Regions from separate parts of the Homo sapiens genome. Here all the other regions are linked to region 1. Evidence: promoter capture Hi-C in 16 types of primary human blood cells and fetal thymus (Javierre and others, 2016). All regions are on one chromosome and are shown on one strand. Each heading gives the region's core, a stretch centred on a gene start or on the middle of the fragment in contact. The rest is flanking DNA. Distances are from core to core; before and after follow the strand shown.

Region 1 (3,895 bases), core at 446-2,945:
CCACTGTGTGTGATTTTTTTTTTTTTTTTTTTTTTTTTTGAGACAGGGTCTCACTCTGTCACCCAGGCTGGAGTGCAGTGGCAAGATCTCAGCTCACTGCAGTCTTGACCTCCTGAGCTCAATCAGTTCTCCCACCTCAGCCTCTGGAGTAGCTGGGACTGCAGGCATGTACCACCACACCCATCTATGTTGTAAACTTTTTTTTTTTTTGAGACTGAGTCTCGCTCTGTCACCCTAGTGATTAAACTAGTTAACTCTCTTTCTGAGTATCAAAAAACCAATCTGATCATTGGCTTGTACTCTTCTTATGAGAATATGTTAAATATAATTATAATTAGGTTCAGGACTATAACTTCTGAGAAACGTCTATTTACATAGCAAATGAACAAATATTGTGCCTGTTACATGCCAATAGAACTTTAAGCTAGAAGTATTATGTTCATGTCCTTTTTGTTTTTTAATTCATGACCACCAGTAAATCCCTGGACATTCCCACCCACCACCTGGTGGTGGCATTTGCTAAAGGGAATAATTGCCACCTCCCTCAGAGGGTTGCAGTGAAAATTAAAAGAGATAATAGATGTGAAAGTGCTTTATAATCTTTCAAGTGCCAAACACACATAAGGGATTATTATAGTAGGAAATGGTGTCTTCCAAAGAGTAATCATTTAGACAATGTTATAAACGTAATAAATTATTGGTTTCCATATTCAAACCATGACAAGTTCTTGTAGCCACGATGAGACGGAAAACTAATAATTTAGTATTTTTAGTTGATGTGTTTTTTTGTTTTGTTTGTTTTGTTTTGTTTTTGGGGTTTTTGTTTTGTTTTGTTTTGCTTTTGAGACAGGGTCTTGCTCTGTCACCCAGGCTTGAATGTAGTGGCATGATCTCGGCTCACTGCGACCTCCGCCTCCCGGGTTCAAGCGATTCTCCTGCCTTAGCGTCCCGAGTAGCTGGGATTACAGGCCCGCGCCACCACTCCCGGCTAATTTTTTGTATTTTTAGTAGAAACGGGGTTTCACCATGTTGCCCAGGCTGCTCTCCAACTCCTGACCTCAAGTGATCCGCCTGCCTCGGCCTCCCAAAGTGCTGGGATTATAAACGTGAGCCACTGTGCCCGGCCGCTGATGTGGAAATATTAATTTCACATCCCATAGAGGAATATACAGTGTTTTTGATATTTTAAAGTCGTTTTAACAGTGAGCTGTCTAGAAATTCAACCATTGTCTGCAGATTTTCTTACGATTCTGAGCATCACCCAGTGCGCTAATGGAAGGCTGAGGCTACCCCTTCGCTCTTCTCATTTTTAAGAAACTTCCAGCTATCCTTCCCTCTCCTAGGAAAGCTAACGGAATGCAGGAGATAAAATGGTTTCAGATTACATCCAGCGTGATAAACTGTGTCCTTGTCTTAATCTCGTCCAATTCCCAAAACATTTCCAGCTTGCTGTGAGGAGTTACATTCAGTGGTACAGAATGAGCCAGGCAGGCGACGGCGACTTGTAGGTTCCCCATCCCTTTTCTGAGATGCCGCGGTCAGCTCTAGAGACCTCAGGGATAGCAACAGAGCTGGAGATGGGTTAGGGGAGGATGGTGAGGACTACAAAGGTCTCCCCACCTCCCGGGGGCCGCGGAGGCGGGGCTGGATGAAGGTCGACGTGCCTCCTCCGGGCGGGGCGCTGCCAGGCTCTCAGCCTCTCTGTGGAAGGGCAGCCTGCGCCTGGGTACCGAGGCTGCTGCGCGGCGGACAGCGGGCGCGATGTATCTCCGCAGGGCGGTCTCCAAGACTCTGGCGCTGCCGCTGAGGGCGCCCCCCAACCCCGCGCCGCTCGGAAAGGACGGTGAGTAAGGAGGTCTAGCCCGGAGAGGAGGACGGGCGCCTCGGGTGCAGATTTCGCCCGCGCCAGGGAACCGGCCGGCACCCAGTTGGCCAAACCCGACCCAGAGCAGCAGAAGCCTGGATTGGAGGTCGAGGAGACTGGGGGAGACTCCCGGGAAGACGTCCCGAAGCTCCTGCAGACTTTGGAAGTAGGGAACTTTTCCAGGGTGCCTCAGAGTCCAGATTATCTGGGTTCGCATCCTGATCTTGGACAAATGGCTTAACCTGTTTCCTCATCTATAAAATGAGGGCGATGATGGTTTTCCTTTTTAATGAGTTAATGTATGGTTAAAAGCACTTAAAAACGTGCCTGGCTGACAAAGTCGCAGCTTACCACTTTTATTGTTAGAGGCACCATTCGCTCTCCAATCTCCTGAGGAAGCAGAGGAACGGTGGGAAGGTGGACGCCGATCAGCGAGCGGGCCCGGCAAGCGCTGGGAGGCAGTGAGGCAGGGCCCGCTCAGTGGACGCTGGGCGAATGTTCGTGGGGTAAATAAACCTAACCCTTGGCAGGGTCTCAGCAGCCTGAACCCCGCGAGCGCCTGGCTCTGAGATCCACAACCCCCAAAAAGGAAGCGGCCTTCGGGACACTTTCCTTTGAGGTTGCACGTCGTCCTGCAACTGCTTGGCTCTGTAGTCCAAATATCGACACCTTTGGTTCTGAGGATACGCGAGAAAAAGCAGAATACTCAGCAATTAACTAAAGGGGGAGTTGCAGTGTGAACTGGAGGCTTATTAAATAAAAACGGACATATAGGAAAGCGCTTCGTATAGTGCTGGGAACATAGTAGGTGCTTAATAGGTGTGAGCAAGGAAGATTGTTTTTCTTCTGGGACCAGGCTTGCGCTCCAGGGCGGTTCTGCCCCAGCCGCTTTTCCCTAGTCCCCATCCGTCACCCCTCTCTCTTCCACTCACGACTGGGGGACGGCTCTTAGACAATATCGTGAAGGGTTCTTAATGCTCTCTTCACTTAGCCTCACTTTCTGAGCCTTCCGAGATAATTTTACCCCAGAGGGTGGATTCCAGCAGGAGAGAAAGATGTGCGCGGAGAATTCCATGGGCCGATTTTTTTTTCACGTTGATTAGGCCTCTGTTGGTGGTGGTGGGAGGGAAGGACGGAGGTCTAACTAACTCGCTTTATTTTTCTTGTAAAATGCTGGTGGAAGGAAGTTATCCCTCAAGTATCAGAAATAAGACATCTTCGTTTTCCTAGATCTTTATTGCCTTTATTTTTCTAGATCTTTATACCAAATGATATAGAGCTTTTAAATATATATATACACTGATGAAGTAGGGAGAAGCCATTTATTTTAAACTTCGGAAGATAACGGGACTGTTCTGTTGAGAACGGGGAGAAAGATTAGTCCTCTGACCGTGGCCTTTCGTTTTATCTGTCTGCGTTCCCCACCGACATCATGCGCGCGTGCACGCACACACAAACACACACACACACACGCGCACCTTTTTTTTGTAGCTGCAGAAATTCCAAATAATTTTCTTCCCAATTTGCGGCAAAATAGAAGTAGTTTAAAAATTTTAAATACGTATCTAGCAATGCTGCTTGTAAAGGTACTGGTCTTTCTCTGATTTTCATCTAACTATTTTTGCAGCACTTAAAATGTATTTAAGAACTATTATTGATTGGAAACAAATTTGTCTTCAGTCGTGGACATTACTTAACCTTTTGTTCATACTTTCTACTTTGATGAAAAATAATTTTTTTCAGTTTTATTGAAGGAAAAATTTTTAACTGTGTCTCATCACATTTTGTTCTCTCCTTTTTGCTTTTAAAAGGGTAATTTTATTTTTTTGAGACAGAGTTTCACTCTTGTTGCTCAGGCTGGAGTGCAATGGCGTGATCTCGGCTCACCACAACCTCCGCCTCCCGGATCCAAGTGATTCTCCTGCCTCAGCCTCCGGAGTAGCTGGGATTACAGGCACGGGCCACCACACCCAGCTAATTTTGCATTTTTAGTAGAGATGGGGTTTCTCCATGTTGGTCAGGCTGGTCTTG
Region 2 (3,895 bases), core at 963-3,462, 230 kb after region 1:
GGCAGCCAATAAAGATAAATTAACCAGTTGAGATTCATACAGTCCAAGTTTACCAGATGCTTAGGAGACGCAAAGCTTTGCCTAGCATTCTGTCAAGAAAGGTTTTGCTGTCTGTGTGACTAATCTTACATGAATGTTTTCCCAGAATTGAGTTTTCCAAAGAAATATGGGAACAAGGGGCTGGAGTTGTGGGTATTCTGTTTTGTCATTCAAAGGCAGATCTTTCTACATTACAAATCAAAGTACAACTGACAACCTCTCGAAATTGAAGAACCTAAGCACTAGCCCACAACCTCACATCTGCCTAGAGGAACAACTGGGTAGAAAAGACCAACCAACCAATCTTTTGCCCTTCAGTCAGCCCTTCTGCCTATTTTGGGCTTAAATTTCTATAAACACTTAGTTCTGCCCTTTCAAATTGAAGGGTTATTCTCTTTGGTGAAAAAATTAGGAGTGGGTTGTTACGACATGAAATACAGAGGGCCCTTCCCTTTTTTGTTTTGAAACTTAGCCATTATTATTGTGTGACTTACAATATGTATTTTAAAATTTATATTATTTTACAGATCTCACAAATCTATGAGGTTGAGAGGGCAGATATACTCTATGGATGAGAAAACTTAGGCTCTACTCGTTCAGGGTCACACTGGTGACAGCTAAGTCTTTTCAGTTACAGCCTGTGCCCTTTGACATGTTGCTTTTTTCCTCTCCCCTTATTGTACATGCCCTAGTTCCAGGCCTTTGCCATTCTGGTGTTTGACCATGGCTCACAAATCTCTTGCTAATATCTATCCACTCCAGGTAAAAAGTCTGCCTGTCCTATATTTTTATACATGTCATTTTAAAGAAAGAGTTGATTAGAGCTCCTTATGCATGCACATTCATTTCTTGGATGTCTTTCCTTTTTTAAAACTGAAATCATGTTTTAGTTTTCTCTCTTTTTAGAATTTAATTCTTGGGAATCTTTCAAGTCTAACACACATGATAAATAATGCATATATATGTAACTATATGCAACATTCCCTTCATTATAAATCTTGACTGTTTTAAAAAATGGTTTGAATACAGAATATTTGCATCAGTTTTTTCCTTTAATTTGAAATACTAGAGTAGCTGTTCTTATTGCTTCCTTTAAAAACTACGATTGAAGTACACAAACAGTATCAAATGTTCTACTTTGGGCAAAACTAGACTTTACTGTATCAGAAAACTGGAAATCCAGGCCGGGTGTGGTGGCTCACGCCTGTAATTCCAGCTACTAGGGAGGCTGAGGCAGGAGAATCACTTGAACCTGGGAGGCGGAGGTCGCAGTGAGCTGACATCGCACCTCTGCACTCCAGCCCAGGCAACAGAGTGAGACTCCATCTTAAAAAAAAAAAAAAAAAAAAAAACCCACTGGAAATCCATTATATTCCAGTATTCAGCCACCATATCCTGCTTCTAGTCTAACACTGTATGTATGATAGTTCATGTGTATTTGACTTACATGTTTGACCATTTGACCATGTTTAACAAATCTCTTGCTACACTGCAATGTCTATTCTCCCCGTTTGTGTTCACTCAAAGCCAAAGAAATGGTGGTGGGGAAGAAGCAAGCACTTTGGAATCCAGACAGACCTGAGTTTGAATCCTGACTCAGCTACTATTTATTTGCTATCACTTTGCTCAAATTATTTGACCTTTTGAGCCCCCGTCTATAGTTTAGTTTTAAGATCGTATGTAAAGCTCTTGGAGTCAAAGGAACTCAAATGTTAATTTCATCATATGTATACACCATAATGCCTTATTTAAATAAACAATCCAGTCAGTCGTTACTACCACCATGTACTACGGTATCTACTGAAATGTGGCATGAAGGAAACCAAAACTCATGCCATTCCTACTCCCTCTTCAAATTTGCAATTTACCTTCTGAGACTCTGACAAAACAGTGTATGGGAAAATAGAAAAATAAAAACCAGAAACAATAGTATATAGGGTATAATAGGAAAAGCAGAATGAAAGGTACATATGGATGGAATAAGGGATCTATGCAAGGAACATGCAACTTAGGGTGGGGCACAGTGGCTCATGGCTGTAATCCCAGCACTTTGGGAGGTGGAGGTAGGAGGATCACTTGAACCCAGGAGTTTGGGACCAGCCTGGGCAATGTGATGAAACCCCATCTCTACAAAAAAGTAAAAAATTTTAGCTGGGCATGGTTTCACGTGCCTGTGGTCCCAGCAGCTCGGGAGACTGAGGTGGGAGGATCACTGGAGCCCGTGGGGTAGACTACAGTGAGCCATGATCACACCACTGCACTGCAGCCTGGGTGACAGAGCAATACCGTATCTCAAAAGAAAAGAAAAAAGCAACCTATTAAGATTTATATACTACTAAAAAATTATTAGAAGGCTCACATATGACTTTAAAAAAATTTTCTTTTTCAGTTCCTGATAATGCATCAGTGAAGGATCCAATCTCCTGCAGTGATAACTAGAAAGGATAACTCGAGAGTTTCACTGGATTTTTTCCAGTCCCCTTAACTCATAGTAACATACCAATCATATGTTGGTGTTTCCAAAACTGATTTCGTCTGGTGGCATGCCCATGCACCCATATGCCCACCCTCAACTCATACCCTGTTAATTTTGTTGGTAGACAACACTTGAAACTCAGACATTATTTTGGCCTTCATTCTTATCCAGATTTATTTATTTAAGGCTGCCATGGTTTCTCTTCCGGTTGAAGTATTTTGGGGTAGGTAAACAATGTACCTGCAATAATGAGTATTCTAATCAGTATTGTTCTCAACAACATATGACTAGCAATTAGTCATGCTAAAATCTGAACCAATTCTACATTTGGTAGATGTTCCCGTGCTTGTCATTCTTTCCAGTAGCCCCAAAATTCTGTGCATACTATGTTACTTCTGAAAACCTCATTTGTTTTAAAAGTGGTTCTATTAAAGAATGAGTGATCCATTTCAGTGGACGTTGTTGCAGCTACAGATCTATGTACGTTCACTTTTACAGTGAAGGCTCCATGTGTGAATGGATATATGTGGGTCATTATGATAAAACAGTATTAAAGGAGAAAATCTACTCCCAGATTCTTTTTGGACTACAAAGACATTAAAAGCACTAGGTTTAAAAGACCATTTATTAATCTTATGTATTTACAACTCACAAATTAAAATATCTATTACCAATAAGTTATTTTGTTTGGAAGAGGCTTTACCTGTAATTTTTACTTTTATTTCTGATGGAAGAGAATTCCAGGTTTTTTTGAGATGGAGTTTCACTCTTGTTGCCCAGGCTAGAGCGCAATGGTGCAGTCTGGGTTCACTGCAACCTCTACCTCCCAGGTTCAAGCGATTCTCCTGTTTCAGCCTCCCAAGTAGCTGGGATTACAGACACCTGCCACCATGCCCAGCTAATTTTTGTATTTTTAGTAGAGACGAGGTTTCACCATGTTGGCCAGGCTGGTTTCGAACTCCTGACCACAGTTGATCCGCCCACCTTGGCCTCCGAAAGTGCTGGGATTACAAGCATGAGCCACCACACCCGACCCAGGTTATCTAACTTTTTACATTCTTCTTTCTAGATATTTTGAATGACAGTATCTGGCTATCTTAGGAAATTTCAATGAAAGCCCATTAACAGGCTTTCTAGAAAGTTTCCTATCTCTGAAAAGAAGGTCCTACTGACTCTCTTGGCCACTGCCACATACAGCTTCTAAATAACCTATTGTGAATAGCACATTCCAATACAAATAATGATGACATCGAGTGACTAATATCAAACGCATACCAATATTATTCCAATGGTAAAGTTTAAATATAACAGCAATAATGAAAACTAATTGGTTAAATAATTGAAAACTAATTGGAATCTCTTCAAGAAACACAATAAGGC
Region 3 (3,895 bases), core at 1,009-3,508, 170 kb after region 1:
CAAATCCATACCTCCATTCAGCCATCTGTCAGTGCTTACTGAGGACCTGCAATGTCCCAGCCTCAGAGCTGAATATCTTGTGGTAAACAAGACCCTCTCTTTGCCCTCACCAGGCTTTCAGCTATGTGTAGAAGATGAACAATTTATTAAACATGTTATTATGATAAAATGTGATGAGAATTATGATAGGATTAATTAAAAGTTTATGGGAGTAAACAGCAGGAGAATGCCTTCCTGAGGATGTGACATCTGAAGTAATTATTCAGGCAGAGAATAGCAAGGTTGAAAGTCTGGAGGAAGAAAAACAAGGCTATCTGAGTTGCTGAAAGAGATTCAGTAGGGCTAGATATGAATTATGAGAAAGAAAGGGGATTAAAATGAGGTGTAAGAGGCAAAATAGAAAAAAATCTTATTGCTGAGGGCTTTTAAAGCTTTGTATCTGTTTCTTGGATCAGATAAGTCTAAAGGGCAGTGAGGAGCCTTTTAAAAGTTTTGAGCAGTTTTGAAAAATACAAATTTAGTTTTTTTCAAAATAGTAAGTGCTGTAAATGAAAAAAGGAATAGGACAGTCAAAGAATTACTTAAAGTCTGAACTCCTTGGTTTCTCATTCATAGCTCCCTGATATCTAGCTAACTGTTCTTTTTCACCTTCCACTAAGTTGTCTACCTCTCCAGATTTGGGGTATAGGTGTGCTCATTGCCTACACTAAGTTAAAAGTAGTAGAGATTAAAATAGTTGCTCAGCCAGCCTTTCTTTTTGGAGTTAACAAGGTAGATGCTTTGTACGGTGTTGTTTCAGGAGGAGGAATCATTGTCTCTTATCCATTGTCCATGCCCATTTGTATAAACTTTTGGGTTTTTCCAGGACCTGGGCGAGACTCAAAACAGCGAGTCCTGATTGAATGCCATGCCTATTTGTTGAATTTGTTAGGTATTTATCTAGGCTGGTGGCCTTTAAGTCAATTGTGTAATAGGAATATTATTTTATATTGAGACCTTGTCTGTACAAAAAAAAAAAAAAAAAGGTTGGTATGGTGGCATGGACCTGTAGTCCCAGCTACTCCTTGCAGTCCCAGGAGTTCAAGGTTGCATTGAGCTGTGATGGCGCCACTGCTCCAGCCTGGGCAAACAAGCAAGACCCTGTCTCCAAAAAAAAAAAGTATATCATTTTGATCATTTGGACTAGACAGCGTAAGTTAATATATTTCTTTTGGTCTTGATGTCTTTGAGGACTAACTTGTAAGTAAAAGTTATCTTGAAACTCTATCTGTATTTTCAGCGCTGCATACAAACAACTGCTGGTTTTTATTTCCACTGGCATCATCGACAGTGTTCTAGGCCTTAGGTGTCATAGTAGATACCATAAAGAGAATTATATACAGAAGAGCTATGATTTGAGCCTTTGCAACTAAATATATATCAAAGGGCTTTATAATGGATTTTTTTTCTTTTTAAAAAATGTAATACACAATATTTAGAATATTCTAAAAAACTGAAAAATTCAACTAATAAGTATGTACTACTAAAATTAATAAAATATTGGCAGCAGTGTTAATTTAAATACATCTTATGTTCCCGAATTTAATTTTCCCCTTTCCTTCTTCCTTAAGATAATTACTATCCTGTTTATTAATGATATAATGGAATATTTACAATAGAAGTATGGAAGATTCCGGATATGTGTGTTTTTTAATTGCCAAAAAGAAGTGATCTTTTAGTTTAACAACAATTGTTTTGGAGTAGGTTGGCCTATTAGTGACAAGTTCTCATTTTTATAGGGATTTAGATAAAGATTCAAATCATAGCTCCTAAGCAGTGCAGTTGTTTAAGATGGAATGAGAGGTTGTGAGTATCTTTACAACTGGAGATTTTAAAGCAAGAACTAGAATGCCACTTAGGGATATTGTAAAGAGAATTCAAGTGTCAGGTAGGTGTTCAAACCAGATTTCTTTATAATTTTCAATTCTGAGATGCTGTTTTTTAATAACTTCATTCTGTAAAAGCATGAAAAAATATGATTGTCTATGATATGGTTGTCAGTTCAGTCTCCGGATTAGAAAGGTGTTTCATGAAACAAAGATTAGTTTTTTTTTAGTACCCAGGTTTTATCTTTAGTTAGTTTTATTCCATGGCCATTCTCAAACATTTTGTCCCTGGATAGCTGCCTTACAGATGTCTGTCTTTGGTCACAACAGGAACTGGGCAAGAAAATGTGACGTAAGCCCATCATATTGTTTTGGGGGAAGGACCAGGACCCCAGAGCATGTGCTCTGCTATGGTCAGCAGCTTTATCTTATTTTGCCACTTTAAGAGTCTTAATCTTGTTATTGTGATTAGGTAGTTTTTTCTTCTTTTACACCAATAGCACAGACATAGCTTTGAGTGTAAATTTCTTAAAAGTTTTTCTGATTAGTTGATATGGCTAGTACTTAGAAGATGCTTACATCAAAAAATAGCGTTCTTTTTCAAAGCGATTTCTAATATACAATATTAATTATAACACAAAAATATTTTTTAACGTTTCTTTTTATTTTAGATTCAGGGGGTACATGTGCAGGTTTGTTACGAGAGTATACTGCATGATGCTGAGGTTTGGGCTTCTATTGATCCCATCACCCAGATAGTGAACACAGTACACGTGGGAAGTTTTAAAAATATCCTTGCTCCTTTCTCCCTCCCTCTGTTCCTCCCTCCCTCCTTTTGGAATCCCCAGTGACTGTTATTCCCATCTTTATGTATTTTGTGAACCCAAAATTTAGCTCCCACTTGTAAGTGTGATATTTGGGTTTTTGTCTGTGCGTTAGCCTCCGGCTGTTCCATGTTGCTACAAAGGACACGATTTCATTCCTTTTTATGGCTGTGAAAAATGGGTTTTTCATTAAATAAGTTTAGAAAATGCTGGGTGAAGGAAAATTAAACAGATTTATTTACAGGAAGACTTCTCAGATGTTTTAATATGCAAATGTGATTCTAAAGAAGAGGTATCTCTTTTAAGAGATTATCTCTTAAGACTAAATGTCTTATAGAACAGCCTTATACCTTTAGAGCAGGACCACCTGGCTTGTTAGTACTACTTTGGCACAGTCATAAATAGCCAAGGGACTAAAATTCTCATTTAATAAACTGTATTATATTTAGCCTTTTACCTCATTAAGTCTGCTGCTTCTTAATGCTGCTCGTCTCATGCCGTGGTAGTGCATTTTTCTCAACTAGGTTTTAATTTTTTAATTTTGTAAATCAGACAGTTAAATACTGTGGGTTAGGAGTACTGGCCAGACCCCAAGTTGTCTTACATTAGTGACCAGAAATAATTGTTGGACCAAGAAACTAAAATGTTGTTAGCTTTACTTTTTGAAATTATTGAAGCATCTTCCTGAAAAAAAAAATAAAGTTAGATTTATACCAGCAGGTTATTTGTGGCAATGATGCTTGTTTACTATGCTCTCCTTAAGGTATATGAGGGCTTTTTCAGGGAGATAACATAGTATCTTTGGCAGAAGATACTTTCCATGATGTTTTTCTTTAAATAAAGAAGAGTTGCTATGATGCCTCCTCATTCGATCATTGCATCAGAGTTACTCTTAACAGTTCTAGACACGGGGCAGGAAGCATACTTATTTGGGCCCCGGATCTTAAAATGTTCAGATGTGTGAGTTTGAAGGTTGTTCTGTTCCCCTCGTTTGAGAGTCTTCTGTGACCTTCCTTAACAACCAGTTCTTCGATTCTTTTATTTTTTTTTCTACCCACGGACATTTACCTGTTTAATAAAGACAAGTCTGTTCTCAGAGCAGGGTATGTTTTGTTGCCTTCTTATCCATTAACCACCTCCCCACAACCCTAGTCTGCTATTTTGAGTGTGCTTTTTAGTCATTCTGTGGCATTTTTAGAAAGCACA
Region 4 (3,895 bases), core at 422-2,921, 150 kb after region 1:
TCACTAATTGAATAACTTACTCTGTGCTTTGTACTTATACTATGCTAAGAACTTTGTGCATATAAAGTCATGGGACTTTAAAGGACAGAAATATTAAAATCTCTTTTTTAAATATGAAGAAACCAAGATTTAAAGAACACAGAATGGGGAAACAGGGACAGATGTAGATAATTTGTGCCATTTAGACATGTTAAGCTTGAAGTGTTGACTGAGTATTCCTGTAGTGATGTTAAAGTTGGTAGTTTAAAATTTGGTTTTGGAATTCAGAAGATGAGTCAGAGTAGAGGACAAATACTTAGTCATTATCAGCATAGAGGTGCTATTTGAAACCATAAGAATGGGTGGGCTTACTTGAGAAGGTAGTATAGGGCAAAAAGAAAGGAGACACTGAGGATAGAACCTCACTAAGTTGGCTAGACTTGAGTCTATGGAGATGAAAGAAGAGTCAGAGGAGACGCTTGAAAGTAGAGTGGTAGGCCGGGGGTAGTCGCTCATGCCTGTCATCCCAGCACTTTGGGAGGCTGAGGCGGGCGGATCACCTGAGGTCAGGAGTTTGAGACTAGCCTGACCACCATGAAGAAACCCTGTCTCTACTAAAAATACAAAATTAGCTGGACATGGTGGCACATGCCTGTAATCCCAGCTACTCAGGGGGCTGAGGCAGGAGAATCACTTGAACCTGGGAGGCAGAGGTTGCGGTGTGTCAAGATTGCGCCATTGCACTCCAGCCTGGGCAACGAGCGAAACTCCATTTCAAAAAAGAAAGTAGAGTGGTAGAGAAAGTTGGAAGAATGAATTTTTTAAATGAGGGTAATAATAAATGTATGAGTCTGCGGGGAGGCAGTAGAGATTGAAAACTGAAATAGAATTTGGTCGTTATTAACATTTTGAGGCTGGGTATGGTGGCCCATGCTTGTAATGCCAGCACTTTGGGAGGCTGAGGCAAGTGGATTGCTCGAGTCCAGGAGTTCAAGACCAGCCTGGGCAACATGGTGAAACCCTGTCTCTACCAAAAATACACAAATTAGCTGGGAGTGGTGGCACATGCCTGTAGTCCCAGCTACTCAGGAGGCTGAGGTGGGAGGATGGTTTGAGCCTGGGAGGCAGAGGTTGCGGTGAGCCATGATTGTGCCACTGCACTCCAACCTGGGCGACAGAGCTAGACCCTGTCTCAAAAAAAAAAAAAAAGCAAAAAAATATTTTTAGAGAATAGCTTCAGTGAGGTGGTGGAACATAGATTACAAGGAATATATAGATAAGTCAAGGAGTTAGACTATTTTTTTGAGAAATGTATACAAGTATACGTCTCGATCGATCAGTTAAAGTTCAGTTAAAGAACTTCTTTAATTGGACTTGTTGCCTTTTAACTTCAGTTAAAGATCAGTTAAAAGTTCAGTTAAAAGAAATGAGAGTTTAATATTTTTCTTTTTTTTTTTAATTTTTGAGACTTGTTCTCAGTTGCCAGGCTGGAGTGCAAAGGCATGATTATGGCTCACTGCAGCCTTCACCTACTGGGTTCAAGCAATCCTCTTGCCTCAGCCTCCCAAGTAGCTAGGACTATAGGCAAGAGCCACAACGCCCGGCTGATATTTATTTTTTATTTTTTCTAGAGATAGGGTCTCCCTATGTTGCCCAGGCTGGTCTTGAACTCCTGGGCTCAAGCAGTCCTCCTGCCTTGGCCTCCCAAAGTTTTGGGATTACAGGTGTGAGCCGCTGAACCTGGTCTGAATTTTTTTTTTTTTTTTTTTGAGACCGAGTCTCATTCTGTCAGCCAGGCTGGAATGCAGTGGTGTGATCCTGTCTCACTGCAACCTTTGCCTCCCGGGTTCAAGCAATTCTCATGCCTCAGCCTCCCAAGTAGCTGGGATTACAGGCGCATGCAACCATGCCTGGCTAATTTTCGTATTTTTAGTAGGGATGGGGTTTTACTGTATTGGCCAGGTTGGTCTCGAACACCTGACCTCAGGTGATCTGCCCACCTCAGCCTCCAAAAGTGCTGGGATTACAGGCATGAACCCTGAATTTTTTAATGCAAAATGATTTTAGCTTTTTTATGGTCAAAGAGAAGGAATCACTGAAATATTAAAACCCGGCTGGGCGCTGTTTCCAGAGGTGCTATTGTTTTGACTTATGTATTATAATTTCTTTACTTTTCTTTATAGTTTTGCCACCTATGAAAATAGTCCTAAACAATATTTTATTTTGAAAAAATAGTTTACCAAGCTAATTGAGTTAGGAAAGGGCAATATTATCATAGATAGATGAAGGCTTCCAGGAGAAGATAGCTGAATAGTCAGGTTCACTGAGTGTCATGAGCTTGTCTTCAAGTAGTCAGTGAGCAATGCCATGAGTTTTTAGAAATGTAAGGCACATCCTGCTCTGGTATCTGGCAGTGCTACAGTATGGTATGGGCTGGGTATTGCATATTTGTTCAGGAGGTATATGGTCACATGAAGAACGCTGTTCTGTATCTTTTATTTTAAGCCCATGGTAATCTTCCTCCAACACATAGTAGATCAAAGCAGAACACATCTGGGGGGTGAAATGTGTTCTTAGCTGATCCAGGCAGCAGGGCAGGTGGAGTGAGTAGGTACATGAAGGTAAGCCAAATGTCAATAAAAATCTAGAACAGACTGATCTGGACATTCTGTCCTTAGGAACAAGGTCAATGGTTATCGTAGTAATGACAGTTCATCATGCTATCTCAGGAGTCACACTGCTATATTTTGGACTGGTTGCCCTTTAAATCTGGTGCATAGCTAGCATCGTGGAATCTCTCTTCACAGTCTTCCTGAAGATTCCCATTGTTTCTCTCCTATGTTGATCTCTTCTATCCTGTATTTGCAATAGTTCTCTTTTTTAAAAAATTCACTCTCTCTTATTGATGGGATACATTCTCCAGTATCTTCTTGAGAAAGGAAACATGAAAGGTAAATGTTTGAGATCTTTCATGTCTGAGAAGATACCTTTATTCTACTTCTATAAGATGATTTGACTGGGTGAAGAATCCTAGATTGGAAGTAATTTTTCTTCATAATTTTGAAGAAATTGCTCAACTGTCATCTTCCTTCTAGTATGACTGTTGAGAAGACTGAAGTCTGTGTCCTGATTCTTTGTAGTAACCTGTGTTTTCTTTCTAGAAGCTTGTAGAATCTTTTCTGTTCCCAATATTATGATATTTCACAGTGATATGCCTCAATGTATGTGTTCCTTAATTTTTTGTACTAGACACTTGGTGGGTCCTTTCAAATGGGTGGCTTATATCCTTCAGTCTTAGAAAATTTTATTGATTTACTTCTTTCTTGTTGATTTCTTTCCAAACCTTTTTTTTTTTTCCTTTCTATTTCTTGTTTTTTCCTTATGATTTATTTTTTTGGAACTCTGTTATTCAGATAGTGGACCTCCTGGACTGGTTGGTCATCTAATATTGCCATCTTTTCTCTCCTGTTTTCTATTGCTTTATCTTTTTTCCTCTGGTTCCTGGAGATTGCCTCAATTTTATCTTCCAAGCCTGTATTCATTTCAGCTATTGTATCTTTAATTTCCAAAAATTCTTTTACTTGTATTTTAAAATGTTCTTTACTGAATTGTGATCTGTTCTTACTTTATAATATCTTCTCTGTGTGTGGAATATGAATATTTGGCTTTTTGTTCATGACTAAAAGTGATGGACTAAAAAGCTAGTTGGACACTCCATTTTGGGTAGAGTATGATGCTAACAACTGTGCCTATTATGCCTCAAAGATGCTATTGTTGTTCCTCTCTGGAAAGTAACCTGTCTTCTGCTGAGGTGGAGGAGGTCTGGTTGCTTAGCATCATGAAGGAGAGAGAAGGTCTAGGAATCAAAAGTGCATGTAATTGGTGTTGCTTTCTGTAGATTCTCTACACTGTACAG
Region 5 (3,895 bases), core at 548-3,047, 130 kb after region 1:
AGCAATAAAAAGAAATTAAATACTAACAGATGTTACATGTAAATGAAAGGAACCTTGAAAACTTTATTGTAAGTGAAAGAAGCCAGTCACAAAAGACCACATAGTAGGCTGGGTATGATGGCTCAGGCCTGCAATCACAGCACTTTGGGAGGCCAAGGCAGGAGGAGCCCAGGTGTTCACTTGAGCCCAGGAATTTGAGATCAGCCTGGGCAACATAATGAAGCCCTGTCTCTACAAAAAAAAAAAAAAAAAAAAAAAAAAAAAAATTAGCCAGGTATGACTTCACCTGTCTGTAGTCCTAGCTACTGTAGAGGCCCTGAGGTAGGAGGATCACTTGAGCCCAGGAGGTCAAGGCTGCAGTGGGCAGCCTTGTCTCCCCACCCCCCCAAAAAAATCACATATTATATAATTATATTCATATGAAATGGCCAGAACAGACAGCTCTCTGGAGATAGAAAGTACATTAATTTTTTTTTTTTTTTAAGGTACAGGGTCTTGGCTGGGCACGGTGGCTCATGCCTGTAATCCCTGCATTTTGGGAGGCTGAGGCAGGCGGATCACCTGAAGTCAAGAGTTTGCGACCAGCCTGATCAACATGGAGAAACCCTGTCTCTACTAAAAATACAAAATTAGCTGGGCCTGGTGGCGCATGCCTGTAATCCCAGCTACTCGGGAGGCTGAGACAGGAGAATCGCTTGAACCTGGGAGGCGGAGGTTGCGGTGAGCCGAGATCGTGCCATTGCACTCCAGCCTGGGCAACAAGAGTGAAACTCCATCTCAGGAAAAAAAAAAAAAAAAAAAAAATCTCTGGCTGGGTGCCGTGGCTGACGCCTGTAATCCCAGCACTTTGGGAGGCCGAGGCAGGTAACTCATGAGGTCAGGAGTTCAAGACCAGCCTGGTCAAGATGGTGAAACCCCGTCTCTACTAAAAATACAAAAAAAAATTAGCTGGGCGCAGTGGCAGGTGCCTGTAATCCCAGCTACTTGGGAGGCTGAGGCAAGAGAATGGCTTGAAGCCAGGGGAAGGAGGTTGCCGTGAGCCGAGATCGCGCCACTGCTCTCCAGCCTAGGCGACAGAGTGAGACACTGTCTTAACAAAAAAAAATCTCCATACTGTTTTGCATAGAGGTTGCACTAATTTACATTTCCACTAGCAGTGCATAAGTGTTCCCTTTTCACCAAGTCCATGCCAATATCTATTGTCTTTTGTCTTAATAATGGCCATTCTTGCAGGAGTAAGATGGTGTGTCATTGTGGTTTTAATTTGCATTTCCCTGAATGATTAGTGATATTGAGCACTTTTTCATTTATGTGTTGGCCAGTTGTATATCTTCTTTTGAGAAATGTTTGTTCATGTCATTTTCCCACTTTTTCATGAGATTATTTTTTTTCTTGCTGATTTGTTTGAGCTCCCTGTGGATTCTGGACGTTGGTCCTTTGTTGGATGCATAGTTGGCGAATATTTTCTCCCATTCTGTGGGTTGTCTCTTTACTCTGATGATGATGCTGATTATTATTTTTTGCTGTACAGAAGCCTTTTAGTTTAATTAGGTCCCATTTATTTATTTTTGTTTTAGTTGCATTTGCTTTTGGGGTCTTAGTCATGAATTCTTTGCCTAGGCCAATGTCCAGAAGAATTTTTTTCTAGGTTATCTTCTAGGACTTTTATGGTTTTAGGTCTTATATTTAAATCTTTGATCTATCTTGAGTTGATGTTTGTATAAGATGAGAGACAGGGATCCAGTTTCATTTTTCTACTTGTGGCTAGCCAGTTTTCTCAGCACCATTTATTAAATAAATAGGGTGTCCTTTCCCCAATTTATGTTTTTCATGCTTTGTTGAAGAGAGTTGGTTGTGGATATTTGGTTTTATTTCTGGATTCTTTAATCTGTTCCATTGGTCAATGTGTCTATTTTTATACCAGTACCATGCTGTTTTGTTAACTATAGCCTGGTATAATTTGAAGTCCAATAATGTGATGCCTTCAGATTTGTTGTTTTTGTTTAGGATTGCTTTGGCTATTCAGCCTCTTTTTTGGTTTCATAGGAATTTTAGGATTTTCTTTCTCTAAATCTGTGAAAAAGGATGTTGCTGTTTTGATCAGATTTGTATTGAATCTGTAGATTGCTTTAGATGGTATGGTCATTTTCATGATATTGATTCTTCCAATCCATGAGCATGGGATGTGTTTCCATTTGTTTGTGTTATCTATGGTTTCTTTCATCAGTGTTTGTAGTTCTTCTTGTAGAGATCTTTCACCCCCTTGGTTAAGTATATTCCTAGGTATTTTATATATATTTTTGCAGCTGTTATAAAATGGATTGAGTTCTTAATTTGATTCTCAGCTTGGTCGTTGTTGTATAGCAGTGCTACTGGATTTGTGTTCATTGACTTTGTAACCTAAGATTTTACTAAATTCACTTATCAAATCTAATAGTCTTTGGAGGAATCTTCAGCATTTTGTAGGTATACGATCATATCATCAGCAAACAGCGATAGTTTGACTTCCTGTTTTCCAATTTGGATGCCCTTTATTTCTTTCTCATGCCTGATTGCTCTGGCCAGGACTTAAAGTACTATGTTGAAAAGAAGTGATTAAAGTGAGCATCCTTGTCTTATTCCAGTTCTCAGGGGGAATGCTTGCAACTTTTTCCCATTCAGTATGCTTTGTCGTATATGACTTTTATTATTTTGAGATAATTCCCTTCTGTGCCTTGTTTTTTGGGTGTTTTTATCATAAAGGGATACTTGATTTTATTGAATGTTTTTTCTGCATCTATTGAAACAATCATGTGGTTTTTGTTTTTAATTGTTTATGTGATATATCACATTTGTTGACTTGCATATGTTAAACCATCCCTGCATTCCTGGGATTAAACCCACTTGATCATGGTGTATTATCTTTTTGATGTGCCATTTGATTTGGTTAGCTAGTATTTTGTTGAGGATTTTTACATCTATGTTCATCAGGGATATTGGTCTGTAGTTTTCTTTCTTTTTGTTACATCCTTTCCTGGCTTTGGTATCAGGGTGATACTGACTTCATAGAATGAAGAAGAACAGGTTGCTTCCTTGATGTGGTGCTGTCCCCCTTGCCCTAGGAGTAGGAGTCCCTGAGAGCCAGACTACTGTGAGTACTGCTGCTCCTCTGGGTCTAGCTGCCCAGTGGGGTTACCACATTCCAGGCTGATTCTGGGGAATGTCTGCAAGGGATCCAGTGATGTTATCTGTCCTCAAGTCTCCCAGCAATGTGTACCAGCACCAGCTCTCATAGGGGTAACAGGGGAATGACATACGTTGTGAGATTCCTTGGTTGTAAATAGCCGTAGTGCGTTGGCTTTCTTAAATGCTGGTTGTAGTATTAATAAACTGGTCATGTGGACAGACTCAGGACATCCTGGTTAGCCAGGGTACTGCAGACAGTGCTGATAACTGGGTCATGCATAAGTTTTCTCCTTCTTGGGTGCAATGTTATTTTACCTGTAGTTGCTGTAGTAAACTGTGTCTGTTGGCCTCCAGCCAGGAGGTGGTGCTTGCAAAAGAGTGCCAGCTGTGGTTGAAGTGGTGGGATATGTGCTTGTCTTATGTTACCCATGGGAGGTATTTTGGTTTATCAGATGATGGGTGAGGCCATAGGGCTCCCCAAAGTTTCTGTCTTTTGTGTTAACCTACCAGGGCAGGTGGAGGGTCAAAGCCAGGTGGGGGGCTTGGTCAGGCAGGCCTGCTCTTTGGCTCTGCATGTGTGGTGTAAGCACAGATCCATGTTGGGCTTTTGGAGCCATTCCCTGGCCACTGGGGTAATGTTCCAGGAAAAAGCTTAGCTGCCTCTGCTTCACAGAAGAGTTCATGCAGGGAGTGGGGAGTAGCAGGTGGGAGTAAGTCTCATCCAGCTCCT

What was found. Contacts are between HindIII fragments. The CHiCAGO score rates a contact against its expected background, and 5 or more counts as called.
Region 2: a fragment that was not itself captured here is called in contact with the fragment with the promoter of MGARP in region 1 in 2 of 17 cell types (neutrophils and non-activated CD4 T cells); the score reaches 6.3 in neutrophils.
Region 3: a fragment that was not itself captured here is called in contact with the fragment with the promoter of MGARP in region 1 in 12 of 17 cell types (naive B cells, total CD4 T cells, total CD8 T cells and 9 more); the score reaches 11.6 in naive B cells.
Region 4: a contact is called between a fragment that was not itself captured here and the fragment with the promoter of MGARP in region 1, in 7 of 17 cell types (naive CD8 T cells, total CD4 T cells, naive B cells and 4 more). The highest score is 6.5, in naive CD8 T cells.
Region 5: a fragment that was not itself captured here is called in contact with the fragment with the promoter of MGARP in region 1 in 4 of 17 cell types (total CD4 T cells, total CD8 T cells, monocytes and 1 more); the score reaches 5.4 in total CD4 T cells.

Annotation. Positions count from the first base shown.
Region 1 is chr4:139,278,025-139,281,919 of GRCh38, reverse strand. MGARP (mitochondria localized glutamic acid rich protein) reads left to right here and starts at 1,695. Exons shown (of 4, transcript NM_032623.4): 1 at 1,695-1,843. The coding sequence starts at 1,762. RefSeq lists an enhancer at 1,731-1,940. The HindIII fragment of the contact is 26,288 bases long and covers 1-3,895 here.
Region 2 is chr4:139,046,872-139,050,766 of GRCh38, reverse strand. No RefSeq gene overlaps it. Among named protein-coding and RNA genes, the nearest start is that of NOCT, 33 kb to the right of the region's middle. The HindIII fragment of the contact is 4,269 bases long and covers 78-3,895 here.
Region 3 is chr4:139,108,621-139,112,515 of GRCh38, reverse strand. All of the region lies in intron 4 of ELF2 (E74 like ETS transcription factor 2), which reads left to right. Among named protein-coding and RNA genes, the nearest start is that of ELF2, 67 kb to the left of the region's middle. The HindIII fragment of the contact is 3,650 bases long and covers 434-3,895 here.
Region 4 is chr4:139,125,818-139,129,712 of GRCh38, reverse strand. The region is part of intron 3 of ELF2 (E74 like ETS transcription factor 2); the gene reads left to right. Among named protein-coding and RNA genes, the nearest start is that of ELF2, 49 kb to the left of the region's middle. The HindIII fragment of the contact is 2,948 bases long and covers 198-3,145 here.
Region 5 is chr4:139,144,688-139,148,582 of GRCh38, reverse strand. The region is part of intron 1 of ELF2 (E74 like ETS transcription factor 2); the gene reads left to right. Among named protein-coding and RNA genes, the nearest start is that of ELF2, 31 kb to the left of the region's middle. The HindIII fragment of the contact is 4,043 bases long and covers 1-3,818 here.